7 separate regions of the Homo sapiens genome follow, and regions 1, 2, 3, 4, 5 and 6 are each linked to region 7. Evidence: promoter capture Hi-C in 16 types of primary human blood cells and fetal thymus (Javierre and others, 2016). All regions are on one chromosome and are shown on one strand. Each heading gives the region's core, a stretch centred on a gene start or on the middle of the fragment in contact. The rest is flanking DNA. Distances are from core to core; before and after follow the strand shown.

Region 1 (3,293 bases), core at 265-2,764, 1.3 Mb after region 7:
AAACAGGCGGCAGTGGATTTGGCCTGCAGGCCATACTTTGCTGACCCCTTTGGTAGAAGATATTAGGATGGTAGTTGGTAAAGGTAGGAAATGGGAGAATCAGAAAACAATCGAGAAAGGTGGTTTTTCAAATTATTTTCAAATAGCTTTCAAATAACATAAGCAGGAGATAAATTATTTCAGATTGCTTTCAGATAACATAAGGAAAGAGCTTTTATAGTGTGAACCAACCCTATGATACATAATTTTTATCTCAGACTACTGAAACATCCTAGAAGCTGCATCAGGATACAGTATTTGAACAGATTAAAGTCTTTATTATAAAGCTGATATAAGTTAGCTATGACCTATGAGCCAAATCCAGCCAAGCACCAGCTTTTGTAAGTTTTATTGGGTGACAGCATGCCCATTGGTTTATGTGTTGTTTATGGCTGCTTTTGCACTACAATGGTAGTATTTCTCAGATTTGTCCATACACCTCACATACATATGTACACACATATACCACAGTCCTCCAGTGTTTAAATCATTTTTAGTGTATAAATTAAAAACTCAATAAGATCCTTAAGATTAGAGCTTTTTCGTAACTCAAAACCAAAGCACTTTTATTGTCAAGTAGAATCTAAATTACAAAAAAAGATTGTTCTATAATATGGCTGACGTCTACTATTAATAATTTGTTGTGCCAAAGTGAATGTGGACCTGTCTGCTACTGTTCATGCTGTTGAGCATTCAGCCTGCATTTTCTGAAGCTGACTTGCTAGTATTTTTTTTTTTATCTACTGTAACTATTCTGAAAGCTTCATTTGTATCATGTGTTTTACATGATTTGGTCTTCATTTGAAAGATTTTCTGCCTCTGTTCTTCTCTCATTAGCACAAGACAGTTAAAGTAATGTTACTTAAAGCCAATAAGAACATAAATATAAACAAATGCCCTAAAATCAGGAACAATAGTAGGTTATATATTTTATCTTCTCAATAATCAAGAGCGTGTTTGAGTTTTCTTTACATTTTCATAGAAATCAAAACACAAAATTTCCCCTCAAATTCTTGGGCCCCTGAAAGTATGTCTGTAAATTCTGGTTTGAGAAACATTGATCTAAACCTATGTTTCATTGAACACCTAGACTGAATACTTGAAACTAAATAACATCAAATTCTCTGATGAGATAATTTAACCATGAATTGATTGAGATTAGGACATGTCTAAACCTCACTTGGATTTTCCGATACTTAAGAAACAGAGATCACTAGGGACAGGTTTACTTCCCATTTCTTTGACACTCTCAGAGGCTGTCAACCTTTTCTATCATGGACCCTTTCACAGACTGGTGAAGCCTATGGACCCCTTCTCAGAACAATATTTATAAGTGCATACAATAAAATACATAATATTATAAAGGAAACCAATCATATATAGTTTTCAAAATTTCTTTTAAAATTAAGTGTATGATATAGCGGTATTGCTTCTTTATTCATGCATTAAATACCAAGATATAATGAGAGTTCTGATAACTTCCACAACTGTCATATGACATGAAAATGCCTATGATTTCTATTGAAGACAAAGTCATACAACCTGCTAATATTATCACAGTTTGTTGCCTACATTCATAATTGAAAGAGATACCAGATTTTGGTTAGAAGTTAAAGAAAATGAAGGTGTAATTTTTTTCTTATCTTCACATTCGCAAATCCCTTGGGGTGTTAATAACCCTTACACTATAGTGTATATGTGTGGTTCATGTATGTGTGTATATGTAAAATATGCACTTACTACACATATTCATACCGTATGTTAGATCTTCTAGAAAGTAATACACCCTTAACCGTGTTATGTCAGCTTCCAGCAAAAGTACCTTTACTCCTACAATTATTTATTCAACAGATACCTATCTAGCACTTGACATACACCAAAATTCATTTGAAGACTATTTGGGGTTTTTGTCCCTCAAAGTCACACTTGAACGCTTATGATACCATCATCCCTCATATAAGAACCTAAATAATAACTATCTCCTAGAATTTATTACAAGAAAAACTACTCATTTTCTTAAATGGTTTGCCTCTTGGCCTTTACCACAAAACTTAGAGCTGAATTCATCGCTTGATTGCAGAAATTAATTCAAATTAGCTATATGTTTTGCAAACTATAATGTTATATTATCATCTTTGCTAGGATCTGTTGACAATGGAGCAAGTGAAAGACTTTGCTGCTAATGTGTATGAAGCTTTTAGTACCCCTCAGCAACTGGAGAAATGATTTTTCCTTCAAGAAAAACTACAGTGGGATTCATTTACTTTTTAAAATACACTGGGTAAATCACCTATACTTAGAGTAACAGTTTGTTATCAAAATGCCTGATAAAATATATTCTTAATAAAAGTCTTCATTTCATAATGAAATCAATTTATTTGGCATCTTAATATATTTTTTTAGATTCATCAACAGACCAGTTTTTGTGGGCATATATATATACACGTGCAAATATCAGAATTGTTAATAATTTGTTACACATGGACATTTGTTCCAAACTGACTAAAAATCAATATAGATATTTTATATACATATATATATATAAAAATACAAAATTCAGTGTACTTTACCATATTAATACTGAGGAAAAATCTGTTGGAGACATAGGTCTAGGATGTGTGAAGTTTGGAAAAATATGCTATTTAATTATAATGTTCCCTAGACTGCTGTAAACAGAAGTGAATCAGACTTTTCTCCAGCTACCTTTCAAAATAATAAATTATTTGTCTCAAATATACCTTGATGGAGGACTTTTTTATTCTTATGGAAATAGTGAATTCCAACAACTATGATGAACTATGTTCTTTGCTATTTCTTCACTATATTTTTTAAGGTTTTATTAAAAAGCCTTAGAAAGTTACATATTGGTTTAGAGGCTAAAATTGTGTTGATGCTGTTTACTCACCTAATTACATAGTTTTAATCATTTGTACATAATTTTAAAAACTTACTTTGTATTGATTTTGAATACAGTGAAAATCTTATTGCAATAAACTATTTTAGTAAAATATTATTTTGTTGAGTTAATATTTTTCAGCTATTAATTTACTTATCCCATAGCATTTTTGTTATTATTTCGGAAGAGAGAGCATGCTAGTTTAAGTTTCATTTTAATTGGTCGTGTACTTGGTGCTTTTTTGTTGTTGTTAACTTGTTCATTTAGTAAAAAGCAAATAGCTTTACTTTCTGAAAAAGAAATAATTCATTATCTCTAGTAATACATCTGTAATTCTTCATTTAGAAGGGTAATTAGG
Region 2 (3,027 bases), core at 440-2,939, 1.7 Mb after region 7:
GTTTCTATTTATCCCTTAGGGAAGAAAGCCTGATCCTGGTTAGTGAGGGAGGGGATATAACAAGGCAAAGCAAGAACTCAGTTTTCAAGGTTACTCTGGGTCCCCTTGGCCAAAAGGGAGTCCGTTCAGTCAGCTGGGGGGCTTAGTACTTAGTTTGTATTTCTCTTGCCTCATTTTTAGGATTTGTAAGATGCTGAAGATAATTGCGTCTCTTTCATAGTGTTGCAGTGAGGATGAAATGAGATGATTCAGATAAAGTGCCAGAACATTAATTCATTTAAATAAATACTTACTGAGCATATATGCCCCATGCATCAGGCCCCTGATGATACAGCAGTAAGTACAACTGATTGAAAGGAAATGAAAACTGCCCCCTTGGATCTTTTAATTCTATATAATGAATAATAACAACGAATCTCTGGCACATAGGAGTGCTATGTATTATCTCTGTTACAAAGCAATATCCTAAGACAAGTTTTATGGTCCTAACCTAAATTATTTCTATATATATATATTTTTGAGACAGAGTTTCGCTCTTGTCGCCCAGGCTGGAGTGCAATGGCATGATCTCAGCTCACTGCAACCTCTGCCTCCCGGGTTCAAGCTATTCTCCTGCCTCAACCTCCCAAGTAGTTGGGATTACAGGCACCTGCCATCACACCTGGCTAAGTTTTGTATTTTTAGTAGAGACGGGGTTTCACCACGTTGGCTAGTCTGGTCTTGAACTCCTGACCTCAGGTGATCCACCCGCTTCGGCCTCCCAAAGTGCTGGGATGACAGACATGAGCCACCGCGCCTGGCCTATTTCTATAATTTTTACTGTAATAAAAGAATAATACTCCACAAATACTTACAGTGATAATGCCTACGGCATAAAGACACAATCCAGGGTAAGCCATTCATTGAGAGGTCACCAGAAACTGGGAAGTTGGGGAAACAAATTTGAAAAAAAGGTCTGCTGATGAAAGTGACTGCATTTACCACACACTTTCGTCCAAGAAAAGCTATGTGAGTACGCCAACGCCGGCCTGAAATCTTCCTAAGAATGCGTGCTTATAGCCTATTTGTTTAAACAGGGGGAGAAAGTTAACATTCAAACACCAGAGATTCTGAATATATTTTATTAGTTCAAATGCCTCTACAGTTAACAGAGTCTCGGGGGTTTGGTTAACAGGGCAGATGAAAGCAGTTCATGAAACAGTGGAAAATATAACCTGATCAAGTCTGATGCAGTCTATAAAGGCAAGGCCCCAGCCTCCGTTGCTACGGCAACCGACTCCGCCCCCACCCGGAGAGGGAACCTGAAACTTGGCGACCCCAGCACCCCAGCGGGGTGGTCGCCTCCCTTCCGTGTCCGCGGCTTTGTTTTTTATGGTTGGGAATAGGTAAGGGACACAAGTCAAGGGGGATGCTAGATTCGTCCCCTCTGGTCTCCGTAGAGGGAGCTATAAAAGGTTCGTCCACAAGCAGAAACCCCTCTGTGGCGCCTCAACGTTAAGGACCCCCACGATTCCCTTTGCCCGGCGGGAGACTAAAGGCCGGAAAAGTACAGCCCGCCCAGGGGTGGGAGCCGAGCTAGCCCCACCTCCCGGTGGCTTCTCGCGATCGTGGAGACGCAGCGAGCCTATGTAACTTCCGGTCGCGACCCATCAGCTCCTCGGCGATTGGTCCGTTTCCACGGCCGGCTGGGTGACGTTATCGCCGGGTCCTGGGGCTGCACGTGTGGTGAGGCCTACAGAAGCGGCCTTCAGCTGGACCTTGGTCTCCCCGCCGGACTTCGAGGGTGTCATCGCCGCCCCTGTTGGGGGTGAGCGCCGCGCGGCTGCAGCATGGTGAGCAAGCCTTGCTTGTTTCGGCGGCCGAGCGCTGTGGTTTTGCAGAGGCCAGGCTGCTTCCGGTAATACCTTGGCTACTGCGGCCCGGGTCTGGGTCATGCCAGAGGCTGCTTGCGGCACGGTACCCCGAAATGGGCCAACGTCACCACCGTGGGCATTCTTTGCAAGTTACAGTCTCCCACCGCCGAGCCTCCCTGGGATGTGGCCCGGAGAGGAGAATGGCCTTTTTGTTTTATCCCTGGGAGCCTGCAGCCCTGCGTGATTTCGGTTAACTAAAAGCTGGTGACTGCCGACACAAACGCGCAACCCTGTGCTTCTTGGGGTCGAGCAGAGGGAGCTGCTGGTCTCCCTCAGCGTTGGAGTGGCAGGTGTCTGCCTGTCTGTTTCCTCTGAGAAAGGGAACTTGTGGGAGAGCATAAGGTTGGGCCCAAAGTAAAGCCACTTAATTGGTTTCCCAGTTTAGAGAATCAAAATTGAATAGCGAAGTAAGAATGTAGAAAGAGGTGATGGATCTTATTAAACTTTAGCTGTTTGTGTCGTGATTTTATTTACTGGTTGGTAGATGCTCTGTGTGGAGCTGTCTACTCCAGATTATGTTGTGGCAGGCTTCTTGTCATTCTAGTTCAGTCGGCCAGGGGCCTTCCCTGAGCAGCCAGTGTAAAGTAGCTTTTAAGGCATTTTCACGTCACTGTCTTATATTTTCTTCACCGGAAATTATCTTGATTTTCTTGCTAAGAACAGGGACTTTATCTGACTTTCCCACTTCTGTATTCTCAGTTCCCATAACAAGGTCTGGCACAAAGTAGGTGCTCAAGGAATGTTTGTTGAAGGAAGGTTAAGTATGGATTCTGCAGAACACAGCTGATGTTGCCTGCCCTAGAAGTGTAGATTTTTAAAAAGTATCTTTAACATGACTACTAAAGATGCATGTGTGGACTATGGAATTATTCTCCGTCTTTTTGTTCTGTTTTAATTAATTGTTGTGATTTTGTTCCTTTGAAGCCTCACAGGAAGAAAAAGCCCTTTATAGAGAAGAAGAAAGCTGTGTCTTTTCACTTGGTCCACCGGAGCCAACGAGATCCTTTAGCAGCAGATGAGAGTGCACCCCAGAGGGTTCTATTGCCCACACAAAAAGTAGGTCCTGTTCTTTAGCCAGTCAGTTTGTAGGTAGACAATAGTTTTTTTTTTCTTT
Region 3 (3,193 bases), core at 547-3,046, 1.4 Mb after region 7:
AGGAGGGATTTCTGGGTTGTCTTGGAGATCTACTCAAAGGACGTTGTGAAACCTAGGTGTTCAACAACAAATAAATAGATAAAGAAAATGCGGTGTATATATACCATGGAATACTATTCAGCCATAAAAATGAAATCCTGTCATTCGAGGCAACATGGATGGAACTGGAGTCCCTTATGTTAAGTGAAATAAAGCCAGGCACAGAGAGTTAAACACCGCATGTTCTCACTCATATATGGAAGCTAAAAAAAGTTTATCTCACAGAAGTGAAAAGTAGAGCAGAAGATACTAGAGGCTGGGAAGAGTAGAGGGAAGGAAGGAATAGGAACAGATTTGTTAAAGGGTACAAAATTATAGCTAGACAGAAGAAATAAGTTCTAGTGTCCTATACCATTATAGGATGACTATAGTTAACAATAACATATTATATAGTTTCAAATGGCTAGAAGGAGGATATTGAATGTTCCCAACACAAAGAAATGATAAATGTTTGGGATAAGGGATATGCTAATTACCCTGATGTGATCATATACATTATATGTATTGAAACATCGCTATGTACCCCACGAATATGCACAATTATTGTGTGTCAATTAAAAATAAAGGTATAAAAGAAAAAAAAACCCATGGCTGAGTGTAGCAGGGATGGAAGGAGTCCCTAGTGAATCACTTGCCTTCAATGAGAGAGTTAGAGTCACAGAAGCAGCAATTGCTGAGGCTAACACTCAAGATAGTCCCCTCCTGTCTTCCTACACTCATAAGCCCAAAAGTTCTTGTTTGGTTCAAGACAAGGAAGGCATCCTGGAAAATGTCTTTTAGGCAATGTTTGTAGAAGGAGCTGAGCTAGGTGTGATTTATAGAAACAAAGAAATAGAATGTGTATCCTGAATGTCTTAGAGCAGTGCTCCTACTACATGCCATTCATTACACCCAGTGCTTTATATACACGAATTTCAATCCTGAAAACACCACCACAAATTAAACGTATGCATTACTTAGGGATCAAATTGAGGTATCAAAATTGAAGCAAAAGACAGTGATGCTGATCACATTTCTTCTGTGCCTAAATCTTTTTACAGGCCTCTGTTTCACATTCCAGCACGTCCCCGCTCTCCTCCAAGCCTCCAGCCATACTCACCTCCCTCCTCTTCGCTTCCATTTTCCTGCCTTGGGCCCGCATGCATGGTATTTTCCCTGCCTGGGATGCCTTCCCTGCCTCTTCCTCTTTTTTATCCCTACTCACTTGTATAAGCCACTTCTTGTGTCCTGAAACTTTTCCTGACTCACCCCAAAAGGGTCAATTATTCCCTCCTTTATCTCTCCACTGTAGTTTGTACACCCCTGTCTCCTATGCTGCTAGTCCAAGATTAGAGAGATTCCTATTCACTTCTGTGTGCCCAGCACAGAGCCTGAGCCTGTTAGGACATAGTAGCTGTTTTAATTTATTTATGTTTTATTGTATTTTTAATTGACAAGTAATAATTGCATATATTTATAGCATACATGAAGTTTCAAGGCATGTATAGATTGTGGAATGATCAAATCAAGACAATTAGCCTATCTATTACTGCAAATATTTATCTTTTTTTGAGATGGGGTCTCACTGTGTTGCCCAGGCTGGAGTATAGTGGCTCAATCATGGCTTACTGCAGCCTCAACCTCCCTGGGCTCAGGTGATCCTCCCACCTCAGACACCAGAGTCTCTGGGAGTACAGGTGCACATCACCACACCTGGCTAATTTTTGTAGTTTTTTTGTAGTGATGGGGTTTTGCCATATTGCCCAGGCTGGTCTTGAACTCGTGGGCTTAAGCAATCTGCCTGTCTCAACCTCCCAAAACTAGGATTACGGGCGTGAGCCACTGCATCTGGCCCAAATATTTATCATTTCTTTGTTGTGAGAACACCTAAAATGCTCTCTTTTCATTATTCCACAAAATGTATATATTCCAAAATATGTATAGTCACCATGCTGTTGCGATACAGCACCAGACCTATTCCTCCTCCCGTCTGACTGACTGAAACCCTGGACCTGTTGAGTAACATCTCCTCTTTCTCCATCCACCCCATCGCACCCCAGTCTCTGATAACCACCATCCTACACTCCACTTCTATGAGTTTGTTTTAGAGTAAGAAGAAGAAAGGAAGAGTGGGAGGAAGAGAGCATGGTAAAGGAGGTGTTTACTTTTGCAGCCTGGTACTCTAGAGGGAAATGGTGGGATGGGCTCAAAACTATGAGCCAGCTTTGGCCTCTCTCATAAAATGAATTCATCTTCGATTTTAAAATGAAAACAAAGAAAAAATTTCACAGAACCATCACATTCCACACCAGAAGAGGCCTTAGAGACCATCAAAACTAACTTCCTGTTTTTTGTTTCTCTCTCTTTTTTTTAAGTGACTTTAAAAGCAGGCCTACTTTCACTATCAGATGGTGATTTATCCTCACTCTGCTGATTACCTGGATTCCTTGCCTTTCTCTTATTTCATTTTCATCGTGTATCGTCAATTTTGATCTCTGCCGTTTCTTTTCAGATAATATTTTGATCTTTCTCTTACTTGCAGTCATTTTTATCTGCCTATATTAAGGAAATGCTATTGTCAGTGAAAGACACTTAGTTCTAATGCCAAGTATTTTGGGAAAATATTTCATAAGAAAACATACCATATTTTTATGTGCATGTTTTGCATATAAACTCTGAGAAATAAAACTTTTTAATATATTTGGGGGATGGGGAAGATAGCAAAAGAAAACTGCAATTATAAAAATAATTAGTTAGAAGGGGATGGGTATTGTCTCAAGGAATGCCTTCAGGAAGTTTTGATTTTAACCAGAGTGTCACACCTGTTTCCATTACCATGAAAAATCCACATTCATGCATCTAAAGACTACTAGTGATGAAATAGGGACAAATTCAGTTACAAAGGTCGTTTAGCTCCCTAGCTTGTCTAATTTATGAAATGTGGATAGCTTTCATTATGTATTAAAGCCTTTGAATAACAATTCCTCCTTCTGTAAGTGAATCTGCAATGTATAAAGAGCCCTCCAAGTGGCACTGTGGCTTTAAGAGGGGCTCCTGGCACAGCAAGGAGGAGGAAGACACTGGCCAGAGATGAGACAGATCCCAGCCCACATTTGGGCTCCTGCTGAAGGCAGTGTTCCTAGCACTGATGGGCGGAACAAGCTAGTTGATAAAT
Region 4 (3,512 bases), core at 114-2,613, 1.9 Mb after region 7:
GCCATATGCAGAAAACTGAAACTGGACCGCTTCGTTACACCTTATACAAAAATTAACTCAAGATGGACTAAAGACTTAAAACATCAGACCTAAAACCATAAAAAGCCTAGAAGAAAACCTAGGCAATACCATTCAGGACATAGGCATGGGCAGAGTTCATAACTAAAACACCAAAAGCAATGGCAACAAAAGCCAAAATTGACAATTGGGATCTAATTAAACTAAAGAGCTTCTGCACACCAAAAGAAACTATCATCAGACTGAACAGGCAACCTACAGAATGGGAGAAAATTTTTGCAATTATCCATCTGACAAAGGGCTAATATCCAGAATCTACAAAGCACTTAAACAAATTTATAAGAAAAAAACAACTCCATCAAAAAGTGGGCAAAGGATATGAACAGACACTTCTCAAAAGAAGACATTTATGTGGCCAACAAACATATGAAAAAAGCTCATCATTACTGGTCATTAGAGAAATGCTTCAAAGATTTCTGTGGAAAGATCTTAATCCCATGTAATTTTCCCCTTGGAGGTGGCTTGATTTTTCTGCTTGGATACCTGAAGAATTCTTTAACATTAATATACCCTTTAGTATTCTTATCTGGGCTATGCCTCTGTGTCAGTTATTCTAGATCAATTTTTCCCCCCAGCATACAGTATGATCTTCCAATTTATAGATTATGTTCTTTTCTAATGTCCCATGTATATTATATATCTGAATACGCTGCTTTTTCAGGGCTGAATGTTGTTTCTATCTACTTGTTCTGTGATCCAAGGTTTTTCGGACAAGGAGAGGTGGGGGAAAAGGGGATGTGTGGAATTCAGCTCAGACAGAGTATAAAGCTTGCTGGAGGAACTCAACCTTCACATCTGAGATTCCTTTAAGTCCTCTGGCAGCTGGACTTCAAGCTAGCCAAGGGAACATCCCATGCCTCAGAGTTTCAGTTCATTTGCTCAGTTCAGCACAGTATCCCAGAAAGTGGGAAACTTTCCTGCCTCTGGCAAGATCCAACAGTGGTATGCAAAGGTTCCTCAACATCTCACAGGTGTGCCCTGCCTTTCCACATTGGGGGACGTTTGTGAGAATTCTTAGGATTTGGTCTGATCATCTTTTTCCTCAACATGTCTTGCAGCGGTGGGTGGAGGGCTGGGCAGACATAGGTTCATCTGGAGACAAAGCACGCCTCCATAGAATCTTCTGTTCTCTTTGTTTTTGCTATCAATTCTCAAATTTTACATTATAAGGTTGTACTTTTTTCTTCTTTGGTTGCAGCATGTAAGTTTTTTGTTGCTTTCTTTCCTTTGGGTGATTTAGTGTTTTGTTTTGTTTTTGAGACAGAGTCTCGCTCTGTCACCCAAGCTGGAGTACAGTGGCATGATCTTGGCTCACCGCAACCTGCCTCCCGGGTTCAAGCAATTCTCCTGTCTCAGCCTCCTGAGTAGCTGGGATTATAGGCGTGCACCATCACAACCGGCTAATTTTTGTATTTTTAGTAGAGGCTGGTATGGGGGTGCTGGGTTGGGGGGAAGTTCGCCATGTTAGCCAGGCTGGTCTCAAACTCCTGACCTCAGGTGATCCGCCTGTCTCAGTCTCCCAAAGTGCTGGGATTACAGACGTGAGCCACCATGCCTGGATGATTTAGTATTTTAATTTTGATTTTTTTAGTGCTTCCTTGTGCCATCTTTATCCAGAAGTCAGTCAAGCAGTCTTTCTTTCTCACTGGTAATGAACTATATGAAATCCTTTTTTATCTTTAGGTTATTTCCACAGTGGTCTCTTTGAACATGACTATGTTGACCTGGTAGCTGTGACACACTCTTTTTCTCCTGAGCTTTCCCTCAATGACGCATGCTTTGGCATTACAGCATGCCCTAGCAAAGCTTCTGGAGCAGGGGTTGCAAACTCAAATCTCTACAAAGTTTAAAACAGTGAGGAACAATGGGACTGTGGTAAAGTGAAAAGGACATTCTTTGTGTAAGGGGCAGATGCTCAGCTCAGGCCAATGGCTGCCATGTTTGAACTCAGGGCAGGGTTGCCACATCTGCATAATTTTCAAGGGAAGTATGCTATCTAACATTTTAATATAAAATCTTCTAATTTTGGAAACACTGCAGAGGCCACATGAAGTATTTCTCCAGGTCAAACTGGACCCAAGGGTTGCCAGCGTGGTCACTGTAGTAGACAGAACCCCTCAGGACAAATTCCATAATCACACTTTTTCTCTAAGTATTTGGAGATTCCATTTTATTCTGCAGACTATTGAATGACTTCTTAACATTTCTTCAGCAAATGCAGAACAAGAAAATTCATGCTGACACATCTATAGGTTGATACAATGTGTCAGGACCCAACACTTTCAGGAACAGGTGTTACCAGGGGTAACAGCTATGATGGGGCTAAAATTAATACCACATGGGCAGACAATCATACAGATTATGCCCACATTAACAAAATAATGGAGGGGGAAAATGTTATTTTCAATTGATGCAAAAAGAGCATTTGACAACTACACCCCATCCTGAAAAAAATGACAACTAGGAATGGAATGGAACTTCCTTAGCCAGATAGTGGCTATATTTTATCCTATAGCTGCCATAACAAATTACCACAAACTGGTGGCATAAAACATGAAATTTATTTTCTGAGTCCGAAAGGCCAGAAGTCTGAAATCAAGATATCAGCAAAGGCCGCAGGCGCCATCTAGTGGCTCTAGTGGAGATTCCTTCCTCACAACTTCCAGCTTTTGGTGACCACTGCCATTCCCTGGCTTCCTCGGCTTCCTTGGCTTGCGGCCACAGCATGCCAATCTCTGCCTCCATCTTCACAACGCCTTCTCTGTGCGTGCCATGTGCTTTCTCCTGTGTGTATCTCTCTTATAGGGGTAGATGTCACTGTACTTAGGACTCACTGAAATAACTGAAGGTGGTCTCCTCATTTCAAGATCCGTAACTTAAGTCACATCTGCAAAGACCCTTTTATTCAACTCAGGTTACATTCTGAGATTCCAGAGATTAGGACACAAATATTTTCGAGGGTCATCAGTCAGTCCTCATGTCAAAGTTGACATGGGCAAAATCCATGTCAGCTTTGCTATAGAAATTGACAAGCTGATTCTAAACTTTATATGGAAATGAAAAGAACCTAGAAGAGAAAAAATAATCTTAAAAAGAAAAACAAAGTTGGAAGGCTTATGCTATCTGATTTTTACGCCTACTATAAGGCTAGACTAATCAAGACAATAGGGTAATGGCTGGGCATGGTGGCTCACACCTGTATCCCAGCAATTTGGGAGGCCGAGGCGGGCAGATCATTTGAGGTCAGGAGTTCAAGACCAGCTTGGCCAACATGGCAAAACCCCATCAATACTAAAAATGCAAAATTTGCCAGGCATAGTGGTGCACACCTGTAATCCCAGCTACTCAGGAGGCTAAGGCAGGAGAATTGCTTTAACCTTAAGGTGGAGGTTGCAGTGAGCCAAGATTGCACCACTGCACTCCAGCCTAGGCGA
Region 5 (3,102 bases), core at 142-2,641, 1.9 Mb after region 7:
CCACCCCACAACATGTGAGTCCAGCTGTGGCTCGGATGGGGTAGGCAGATGGGAGATTGCACATTTAGATAAAGAAGGCAAGTTCACTACTTCTCCTTCAGGCAGGTAGTGAACTTTCATGCAGGAATTGAACTTTCAAAGACTTTCAAAAACAAATTCAATAAAGGAAGTGAGAGAGGGAGGATACATACAACTTTCAAGGAATAGATGGTTTTTCCAAAGTTTAGAGGAGGGAAGGAAATCGCTCTAATGAAAGGAATAACAGCTACCATTCTAGTGCTTATTCAGGCAAGCTGACACCAGAGCCCATGTTCTTTTGCCCATGCTATTGGGCACTTCACAGCAGAACAGGTTTAGACCAACTGATCTAGAAATGGCAGGCTGGAGAACAGAAAGTGAGAGCGAGGAGGGAGGAGGGACTCACATTACTTTTTTTCTTCTTCTTTTTCTTTTTTTGAGTAAGAGTTTCACTCTTGTTACCCAGGCTGGAGTGCGATGGCGCCATCTCGACTCACTGCAACCTCCACCTCCCAGGTTCAAGTGATTCTCCTGCCTCAGCCTCCTGAGTAGCTGGGATTACAGGCACCTGACACCACACCCAACAATTTTTTTTTTTTTTTTTTTTGTGAGACGGAGTCTTGCTCCATCACTCAGGCTGGAGTTTGGTGGCGCAATCTCAGCTCACTGCAACCTCTGTCTCTCGGGTTCAAGCGATTCTCCTGCCTCAGCCTCCTGAGTAGCTGGGATTACAGGCACATGCCACCATGCCCAGCTAATTTTTGTATTTTTAGTAGAGACGGGGTTTCACCATGTTGGCCAGGCTGGTCTTGAACACCTAACCTCAGGTGATCTGCCCACCTCGGCCACCTAAAGTGCTTGGATTACAGTCATGAGCCACCACGTTTGGTCTGTGGGTGCTTTCTTAAAAGACCTACAGAAGATGTGAGGCCCTTGAGCTTGAAGATTAAAGCAGTCATTCCCCAATCCCAGACTGAGAGTACAGCCTTCCTTAGTTGTATACCTAGTCACAACATCCCTCATTTGCAGATGTCACTAGCGCATCCAGCAGTCCTTAACTTTCAAGTACAAGATCTTTGGTTATATACCATCAGTACAGCTGTGCACTGTTTATTAATACACACCGCACCCCCTGCCCCATAACCTGCAACTACCTTTCATACACCAAATTCCATTTTGGGTCATGATCTAAGAGATGACACCAACCATTGAGTGATGGGTGTTGCTGTTAGCCACTCATCAAAAGAAGCACAGACGCCGGGGGCTTGTGGTCCCAGCGCCCACCACCCCATGCCAAAGAACCATGTTCTTGGACCTCTGCCTCCACACAGACGGCACTCATGAAGGAGGCTCAGGGGTCATGTCCCAGTGCCTAGAACCTGCTCTCCTGGGTTGGGGAATGGGGTTAGTTCCAGCAGACACAGCCTCAATTCTTTGGTGAAATAATACAATCAAATCCTCTGTAGGTACAGAAGATGAAGATCCTCACCCCCTACCCTGTTCCAACTAAACAACGGCATGATGTTGGTAGTTGGGTTTAATCGACCCAGGTGCCTGGGACATGGGTGGCCTGACCCCAGCAGCCATCTCCCTGCCTTGGGTTCCAGAGTGAGGGCTGACAGGCTAGAACTCTCACTGGCAGCCCTGGCCGCTCAAGCCTGAGGGAGCCAGGACCTACAGAGACCATCATGAGAAATTTTCTAATCAAAATTTTTTTCTAGTAATGAGAAATATTTCTAACATCTACAGGTTTTGTTGTTTTTTTCTTTTTCTATTTTTTTTTTTGTTTTGTTTTTTGCCTTTAAACACATTTCCAGGAACTCATTAGTTACCAATGTAAGGGACCACCTTAATGAATAAATTACTCCAAGGATATAGAATTCCCTTTTGTTGCCACAGCCTCTTATTCTGCCCACCTTGTCTTGCTTCCTATTTTAAAAAATGTCTTTGTGACCTTTAATCCCTAGAACCTCTTCCTACTTTCTTAGTTCATTACCTCCATTCTGACTTCCCTTACCTCTCCACTCACTATAGGTCAGTTTTTGTTGCTGTGGTTTTGTGTGTACGTGTGTGCACTTATTTCCTTACCGCCATAAGCATGACTCTTCATTTCCTTGACTTCTCTCCATTTCCAGTCAGAAATCTCCCCTCATTCACTTGTTTTGTTACTTTCTCAAATTGTTACGTGCTACTGGGACATCAAAAGAGTATGTTGATTGGATCTACTCTGAATATAATTTCAGAAGAGCACATACAGCTTTTTAGCATCTTTTTCATCATCTCTTGTGTTAGTCCATTTTCATACTGCTATGAAGAAATACCCAAGACTGGGTAATTTCTAAAGAAAAAGAGGTTTAGGCCAGGTGCGGTGGCTCAAGCCTGTAATCCCAGCACTTTGCGAGGCCAAGGCCGTCAGATCACCTGAGGCCAGGGGTTCAAGACCAGCCTGGCCAACATGGTGAAACCCCGTCTCTACTAAAAGTACAAAAATTAATTGGGTGTGGTGGCAGGTGCCTGTAATCCCAGCCACTCGGGAGGCTGAGGTAGGAGAATTGCTTGAACTCAGGAGATGGAGGTTGCAGTGAGCCAAGATTGTGCCATTGCACTCCAGCCTGGGCGACTGAGCGAGACTCTGTCTCAAAAAAAAAACAAAGAAAGAAAAAGAAGTTTAATGGACTCACAGCTCCACGTGGCTGGAAAGGCCTCACAATCATGGTGGGAGGCAAAGGAGGAGAAAAGTCATGTCTTACATGGTGGCAGACAAGAGAAAGTGTGCAGGGAAACTGCCCTTTATAAAGCCATCTGATCTTGTGAGACTTATTCACTATCATGAGAACAGCTGGGAAAAACCTGCCCCTATGATTCAATTACCTCCCACTGGGTCCCTCCCATGACACATGGGGAGTATGGGAGCTACAATTCAAGATGAAATTTGGGTGGGATACAGCAAACCATATCATCTCTTTATTACATTTTCTACCTCTGCAATTCTAAACCTTTTGCATCCAAGATCTCAACTTTTCCTCCTCCTCATTCTCAACAGAGTGAATTGCCTTCTTCTTCAAGTAGAAATACTTCCCACTG
Region 6 (3,083 bases), core at 144-2,643, 1.4 Mb after region 7:
TGCAAAAGAAACTAATGAATGAACAAGCCGTTGGAACAAAAACAATTTGTTAATGCTTCCCTGGCCTTACAAATACTGGAGTGGTAATGGGTGGAATCCATTCTATTAAAATAGAATGGATTTTAAATGTGTGGGGGTTTAGATATTCTTCTACCACCTCTGATTTTTCTGGAAACCATTACAGTTCCACAATCCTTTTCCCTCCAGGTGATCTGGGTCACTTTCATCACTTTCATCACTATCAGTTCATCCACTATTTGCACCATTTGGCCAGCTAAGAGTTGGCTAAAAGTGCAGCCAGGTGTGTCGTAATGATGCAAGACTATAGCAGTATAATCCCCATGATGCATTCACAGGATGCATTACAGAGAAGGGGAAGGAAAGAGTGCAATTCCAAGATGAACTTTGACTTGCAACCCACACTCCCTTCAACAAACAGCTTTAAGTAAATCTTGGAAATATTGTTCAAAATACATGTGACAAAACGTGACCATCTTTCCTCTGTTACGTGGCGGGTATGATCCTTTCTGTATTCCTAACATCTCTCAATTTGGGTTGAATGTGCAGTCCCTAAGTCATAAGCAAGTGCCAGTCACCACTTATGGTTGCTCCGAAGAGAAAATTAGACCTTGCTTTAGTTTTTTCTTCCAAAAGAACAACTTTTCATTTCTTAACCATTGTCAGCAATTTCCATAGGCTGGATTGACTTACCTTCATGATGTTTGGAAGTTAAGACAATGTATTTGGCACCAGAGGCCTGAAAAATATCTGCCCACTGGTTGGCATTAAAAAATTTTGCTGTAAATAGTGGTCCAAAATCTTCATATTTGAAACTAGGAGGGTAATTATCTTTCATAAATTCCACATACTTCGGTATCTTTTCCTTTTGCCAATACCACCTAAGGGGAGGAAAGGAAAGAGTGCATAAACAGCACATACACACATATTTAAAAGAACTGCTCCAGCTCCCCTTACCATTTACCCCTCACACAGATAGGACCCAGATTCTCTTTCTCACTTCCCCATTAGTTTGACTTGGCTTTAAAGATAGCTTATGCAAACTAAACCCCCTCTCATTTTCCACCTATCCCCCTGTGATATCCACTCAGCTCATAAACTAGAGCATTCTAGGCAACTCAGCTACCCATTCTCTCTTTTTTTTAAGACAGGGTCTCACTCTGTCACTCAGGTTGGAATGCAGTAATGGAATCATGGTTCACTGCAACCTTGACCTCCTGTGCTCAAGCAATCCTCTCGCCTTAGCCTCCTGAGTAGCTAGGACCACAGGCACGTGCCACCACACCTGGCTATTTTTTTTTTCTTTGTAGAGATGTGGTTTCCATATGTTGCCCAGGCTGGTCTTAAACTCCTGGGCTCAAGCGATCTTCCTGCTTCAGTCTCCCGAAGTGTTAGGATTACAGGCATGAGTCACCGTGTCCAGCCCCATTCTCTTTTAATTCTTCACTTTTAAATCACAACATGTAGTATATGTCTTTACACATTGTCCCTTGTAACATAAGTGATTAGGGCTTCTAAAAGGAAGACTACATGCCTAAAACATAATATGCATCTATTATATTCAGTAGTAGAGAACACTTTGGAGGCACAGGACAGAAAGGGAGGCAAAAGTAAAATTAAAAAGATGCTGTTATTTTAATAAATGGACTCAACCTTCAACAATTACTTGCTATACGCATTCATTCTAAGCAATGGTATATTGACCCTAAACTGCGTAAGCAAGACTTCATGAGGAAAAGCACATCTACACATTTTAGATAAACACAGCAGTAACTATCCTCATGAAATAGATGCAACCCCCATTTTTGACCCACCTCCTGCTTTTTCTATCACCATTCCTTTCATATGAGTATTTCTACAGGATAAGCAAATCCATAATCAGCACTATATTTCCCAAGACGATCAGGAGACTCTGCTAAGAAGAAATAATTGAAGGGCATACTATGCGGCAGGCATGCTGTTTGCCTGCCCAAAAGTCGTATTTACGTAATTTCCCAGCTTCCACTACAGCTGCGACAGGGATGTGAGATCCATGCTGGCCAAGGGAACTTGAGGGAAAGCCAACTTTGGGGACTGTGGAAATGGTTTCCCTCCTAATGAAAAGAGACACTGGCCTTCCTGCCTTTGGGCAGGGTTGTGTGAAGTTATGGTGCCTGGCTGCCATCCTGTGACCATGAAGGGACAAGTCCCCAGGCTGAGGATGAAAGAAAGAGCCCGTGTCTTTGATTTCATCAATGAACCGACTACTCTAAATTTCCTGTTATGTGAGATAACAAGCCCCTATCATTATACCTTTTAGTTGGGTTTAAAATCCTTGAAGCATTTTTATTATTTATTTATTTATTATTGATTAATTGATTGGTTGAGACAGGGTCTTGCTCCATTACCCAGTTTGGAGTGCAGTGTCATGATCATACCACACCACAGCCTTGAACTCCTGGGCTCAAGCGATCGTCCCACCTCACCCTCCTGAGTATCTGGGACTACGGGCATTACATTTTAAATTGAACTGCAAAAGAGAAACTGGGACATTCAGAAAGTTGAACAAGAATAAGGAATTTCTCCTAGCATCATCTAATTTGAACCTGCACTGTCCCCTACAGTCTAGACTTGAATTTCATGCTGAGAGATGAAAAGAGGCATTTATGGTAAAGGTCTATCATTTATATTTGGTTTTTAATAGACATTTAAAACAGTCACATATACTCATCTATACTGTTGATTCCCCGAAAGTCAAATTGAGAGTGAGGAGCAGAGGATACAAAGGGAAATCACAGGTAATTAAAGAATCTTCCACAGGGTTAATGCATTTTCAGATCATCAGGAATCTGTTCTCTATTTTGTTTAGTATGAGAAGTATCTTTATTATTCTAGGTCAAAATAACCATGGGTTTATCTGTAGAAAATGAAGTTATTCATAGCAAAGAATAAAATGACTCAAAACTAGCTGTTTTATTTTGGCATAGTACTAGTCTCAGTCAAAAATGTCAAATCCTCTTTGGCACCAATATATCTTTACCTAATCTTCATGGTTGAACAAAATGATAATATAAGATACAATTTAG
Region 7 (3,187 bases), core at 350-2,849:
TTAATCTCAATAGCAGGAAATGCTGTTGTAGACCAAGGAAATTGGGGCTGAGTGCCTAGCTTGAATAGAGCGAGAGAAGTTTGAAACACCATCTGTGGACTACAGCACTGGTCCTTAACCCTAGACGTAACATTAAAATTACATGAGGACCTTTTAAAGATACTGACATTTAGGATCCCACCTAGAACAATTAAGTGAGAATGCCTGGAGTGGGCTTTAAAGTTGATCTTTAAGGGCAGCTGCGGTTGAGAATCAAGAAGTAATAGGAAACAAATAAATGAAAAGTTGTGAGTATAGAAAGAAAACAGTTATGGTTATCCAACTCTGCTTTTCTTCATTGATTTCTCTACCAATCTAGCAACTTTTGACTGGAAAGTCCAAATAGTGGGAGTAAGAGAAAGAGAAAGAAACCATACATTCTCCAGTGGTAGGAAATATGCCGCTGAGATTGGGGAAGAAGACAGAACTGAGTTTCAGGCTGAGTAAAAAAGCCCGACCCAGAATAAGATGATGGACTTTGCAAATAGGTCTAGGCAACGTATGTGGAGTGGGATAATATGAGGACATGGAGCGGTTTCTTCTGGGGGTGAGAGAGTGATCAGAAAATAGTAGGCAGAGGGGAATTTCCGAGCTGGAGATTTTGGCTCTTGGGGATAGTGTGATTTCAGTGAAAACTAGTTTTAAGATGAATTGTCAAAACTGAGGACTGAGATAAAATAAAGAAGGTTATTGGAGGAAGTAAATAAAGTGTACAGTCCTGAAAGATATAAGTAAGGGATGGAGAGGAGAGGAAGAGAATTGAAGTCATTGAGGGTAGAAGGAAAAGTGATGCCTACTGTACAATGGTTAAGAGTTACCAGCGTTGAAAACGTCCCAAACACCCTATCTTACATTAAGACAAGATAATAAATATGAAAATACTTTACAAATTGTTAATCACTCTCCAGAAAAAAAAAAGGTGATCTACAGATTATTCATTCACTAAAATACGTACTAGCCAGCTGAGAACAAAAGTTCAATCTTCTTTAAGCTTCATATGTTTAGCTTAATTTGGCGCGAAATCTGATTATTTTATCCAGTATGTCAACATAGAAAAATTTAATTTACAATTTAAACACATTATTTCTCTCTCATGCAAGTATTGAAATTAAAGTTTCTAAAATCAAAAAGGCTTCTAAAGGACACTGCTATATGGAATATTAATGTGGCATATTAACTGGAAGTGGTAATTCCTGAATGACGCCAAAGGCAATTCTCGCCTTTATACTTTCTCCCAGTCAACATACATTATTTTCTTGTTTTTCCTTTTCTATCCTTCCTTTTGCCACAAACAACAAACCAAACAAAAAAGCAAAACAAAACAAAAACCCTTCCTCCTACCAGCAGAGAGCGCTAGCGCCATGCGCGGCATAAGCGCCAAAATGCTCGGGTCTTCTGTGGGTTCTAACCGCCGAGAGCCAAGCACCCTGAGGTTGTCCCAGCTGGGGATCCGTAGTTGACTTGACGTCGCTGAGCAACGGAAGAGTGGGCAGCATTTGCTCTGAACGCTCGTGCGCGCTACCGCCCAGACGGAAGCGGAAGTGCCGGTGGAGCGCGAGTAGGAAGTGGTGAGTTCGGAGTAGAGATGGCCGCGCTTGCACCGCTGCCCCCGCTCCCCGCACAGTTCAAGAGCATACAGCATCATCTGAGGACGGCTCAGGAGCATGACAAGCGAGACCCTGTGGTGGCTTATTACTGTGAGTCTTTCCGAGTGGCCGCGCCCTTTCTTTCCCAGTTGCATTTTAGGGCCCACACACCTCCCTGAGGTTCTTGGGGCATGCCCCGCCCCCCTCGCTTTAAACCTGAGCTTTGACCTCGAGCCTACCCAGGGAACTCCCTGGGTTCCCACCCCCTGGCAGTAGGAATCCCAAAACACCATGGTGTCCACTGCTTCTCCTATCTTGTGCTTAAATGCTCCAGTACTGACTACACAGGCTCTTGAACTGTGGAATATAATCTTCCAAGGTTTTCTCTGTGTGTGTACACACAAGAGCTTCTTGTCTCAAATAGGAATCCTGAAAATAAATTGAGTTAGGTTTAAAACGAAGGTGAGTGTCCGAAAGAAGGAGTGATGTGGATAAAAGGACGATAGACTAGTTGAAAACATAGTAATAAGTGAATATTATTTATGACAGCATGCAAGCCCAATCAGAAACTCATTTGGTTAAATGGGGAGTATCTGCTACTAAATAAGCAGTTGAATTTGACCTTTCCCCACCCAGCTGCTCTCTCCTACCATGCAGAATTTTTAGTTTTGACTTCTTTGAATAATACCCGCTGTTGAGACCTTTGAAAGCAGTATTTTCACTTTGAGTGTTATACGTTGAATTTACAGTTTGATTAAAAAAAATATAGGTTAACTCTGCTCAAACTTGTAGTGAGTAAAGGGAGTGCCAGTAATTCTGTGTTAACTTTATTTTGTATTCTGTACTCTTAACTTTACTGCAAATAAAACAAGTAACTGGACAATTATAATTCTGAAAAGGATATTTAGAGTTGAGAAGTTGGATATAATGCGTCCATTGTTGTGTATATTGTAAGGTTAGCTAAAATCTGGTCACTGTTATCTCTGCCATACTCCAAATGTACCCTGTTTCTCAAATGTGCAAGGCCTTTTCAGACCTACCATCTTCCACTCTCTTGGAATGTGCACCTTTTTCTTGCACTTGGCAAACTCATGATTCAAGATCTAACCCAAATGTCACCACTTCTGTGGGCAGCAAATTGATTATTCTCTGTGCATTACTTCATTTTGTTCAAATTTTACAGCATCATTTTTATTATACTTGTTCTTCAGTTTCCTCAAGCAGGGTCCATATTCATTCAGTATGTGTTCATTGAGCTACCTTTGTATCAAGCATTAGTAGGCGCTGTGACTACATTTGCTGCATTTTTGGAGCTTACATACAATGGAGGTAGAGAGTTTCAACAATATAGAGTCTATCATACATAGAGTATTAAAAGCTTATGAAGACAAATAGAGCAAGGAAAAGGAATAAGAGTATCAGGAGTAGTGGTGGCAGGGAGTGCAGATGGGATTTCAGTTTCATAGTGGTCAGGAACACTTCACTGAATTGACATTTGGGGAAATAAAAGAGTGAAAGGCATACCTTGCACCATCTGGGAAAGAGTATTCTCCATAGAGGTT

Evidence for each region. Contacts are between HindIII fragments. The CHiCAGO score rates a contact against its expected background, and 5 or more counts as called.
Region 1: a contact is called between a fragment that was not itself captured here and the fragment with the promoter of VTA1 in region 7, in 1 of 17 cell types (monocytes). The highest score is 6.7, in monocytes.
Region 2: a contact is called between the fragment with the promoter of LTV1 here and the fragment with the promoter of VTA1 in region 7, in 1 of 17 cell types (total B cells). The highest score is 5.4, in total B cells.
Region 3: a fragment that was not itself captured here is called in contact with the fragment with the promoter of VTA1 in region 7 in 5 of 17 cell types (non-activated CD4 T cells, fetal thymus, total CD4 T cells and 2 more); the score reaches 6.4 in non-activated CD4 T cells.
Region 4: a contact is called between a fragment that was not itself captured here and the fragment with the promoter of VTA1 in region 7, in 1 of 17 cell types (fetal thymus). The highest score is 6.4, in fetal thymus.
Region 5: a fragment that was not itself captured here is called in contact with the fragment with the promoter of VTA1 in region 7 in 3 of 17 cell types (non-activated CD4 T cells, total B cells and monocytes); the score reaches 8.5 in non-activated CD4 T cells.
Region 6: a contact is called between a fragment that was not itself captured here and the fragment with the promoter of VTA1 in region 7, in 3 of 17 cell types (fetal thymus, activated CD4 T cells and naive CD4 T cells). The highest score is 6.8, in fetal thymus.

The regions. Positions count from the first base shown.
Region 1 is chr6:143,486,962-143,490,254 of GRCh38, forward strand. It overlaps PEX3 (peroxisomal biogenesis factor 3), which reads left to right. Exons shown (of 12, transcript NM_003630.3): 12 at 2,182-3,293. The coding sequence ends at 2,265. Among named protein-coding and RNA genes, the nearest start is that of FUCA2, 23 kb to the right of the region's middle. The HindIII fragment of the contact is 1,433 bases long and covers 799-2,231 here.
Region 2 is chr6:143,841,649-143,844,675 of GRCh38, forward strand. It overlaps LTV1 (LTV1 ribosome biogenesis factor), which reads left to right and starts at 1,690. Exons shown (of 11, transcript NM_032860.5): 1 at 1,690-1,832; 2 at 2,838-2,969. The coding sequence starts at 1,830. RefSeq lists enhancers at 1,494-1,543, 1,724-1,933, 2,124-2,193. The HindIII fragment of the contact is 13,446 bases long and covers 1-3,027 here.
Region 3 is chr6:143,526,233-143,529,425 of GRCh38, forward strand. No RefSeq gene overlaps it. Among named protein-coding and RNA genes, the nearest start is that of FUCA2, 16 kb to the left of the region's middle. The HindIII fragment of the contact is 5,428 bases long and covers 1-3,193 here.
Region 4 is chr6:144,010,898-144,014,409 of GRCh38, forward strand. It overlaps a transcript of PLAGL1 not described here. Among named protein-coding and RNA genes, the nearest start is that of PLAGL1, 4.4 kb to the left of the region's middle. The HindIII fragment of the contact is 1,038 bases long and covers 845-1,882 here.
Region 5 is chr6:144,066,891-144,069,992 of GRCh38, forward strand. No RefSeq gene overlaps it. Among named protein-coding and RNA genes, the nearest start is that of SF3B5, 27 kb to the right of the region's middle. RefSeq lists an enhancer at 61-360. The HindIII fragment of the contact is 3,826 bases long and covers 1-3,102 here.
Region 6 is chr6:143,506,526-143,509,608 of GRCh38, forward strand. FUCA2 (alpha-L-fucosidase 2) reads right to left here. Exons shown (of 7, transcript NM_032020.5): 2 at 712-899. LOC124901417 (a long non-coding RNA gene) reads left to right here. Exons shown (of 2, transcript XR_007059798.1): 2 at 1-805. Among named protein-coding and RNA genes, the nearest start is that of FUCA2, 3.7 kb to the right of the region's middle. The HindIII fragment of the contact is 4,251 bases long and covers 1-3,083 here.
Region 7 is chr6:142,145,664-142,148,850 of GRCh38, forward strand. VTA1 (vesicle trafficking 1) reads left to right here and starts at 1,600. Exons shown (of 8, transcript NM_016485.5): 1 at 1,600-1,736. The coding sequence starts at 1,625. NMBR (neuromedin B receptor) reads right to left here and starts at 1,459. Exons shown (of 4, transcript NM_002511.4): 1 at 1,381-1,459. RefSeq lists enhancers at 1,329-1,623, 1,387-1,526, 1,781-2,301. The HindIII fragment of the contact is 1,973 bases long and covers 1,029-3,001 here.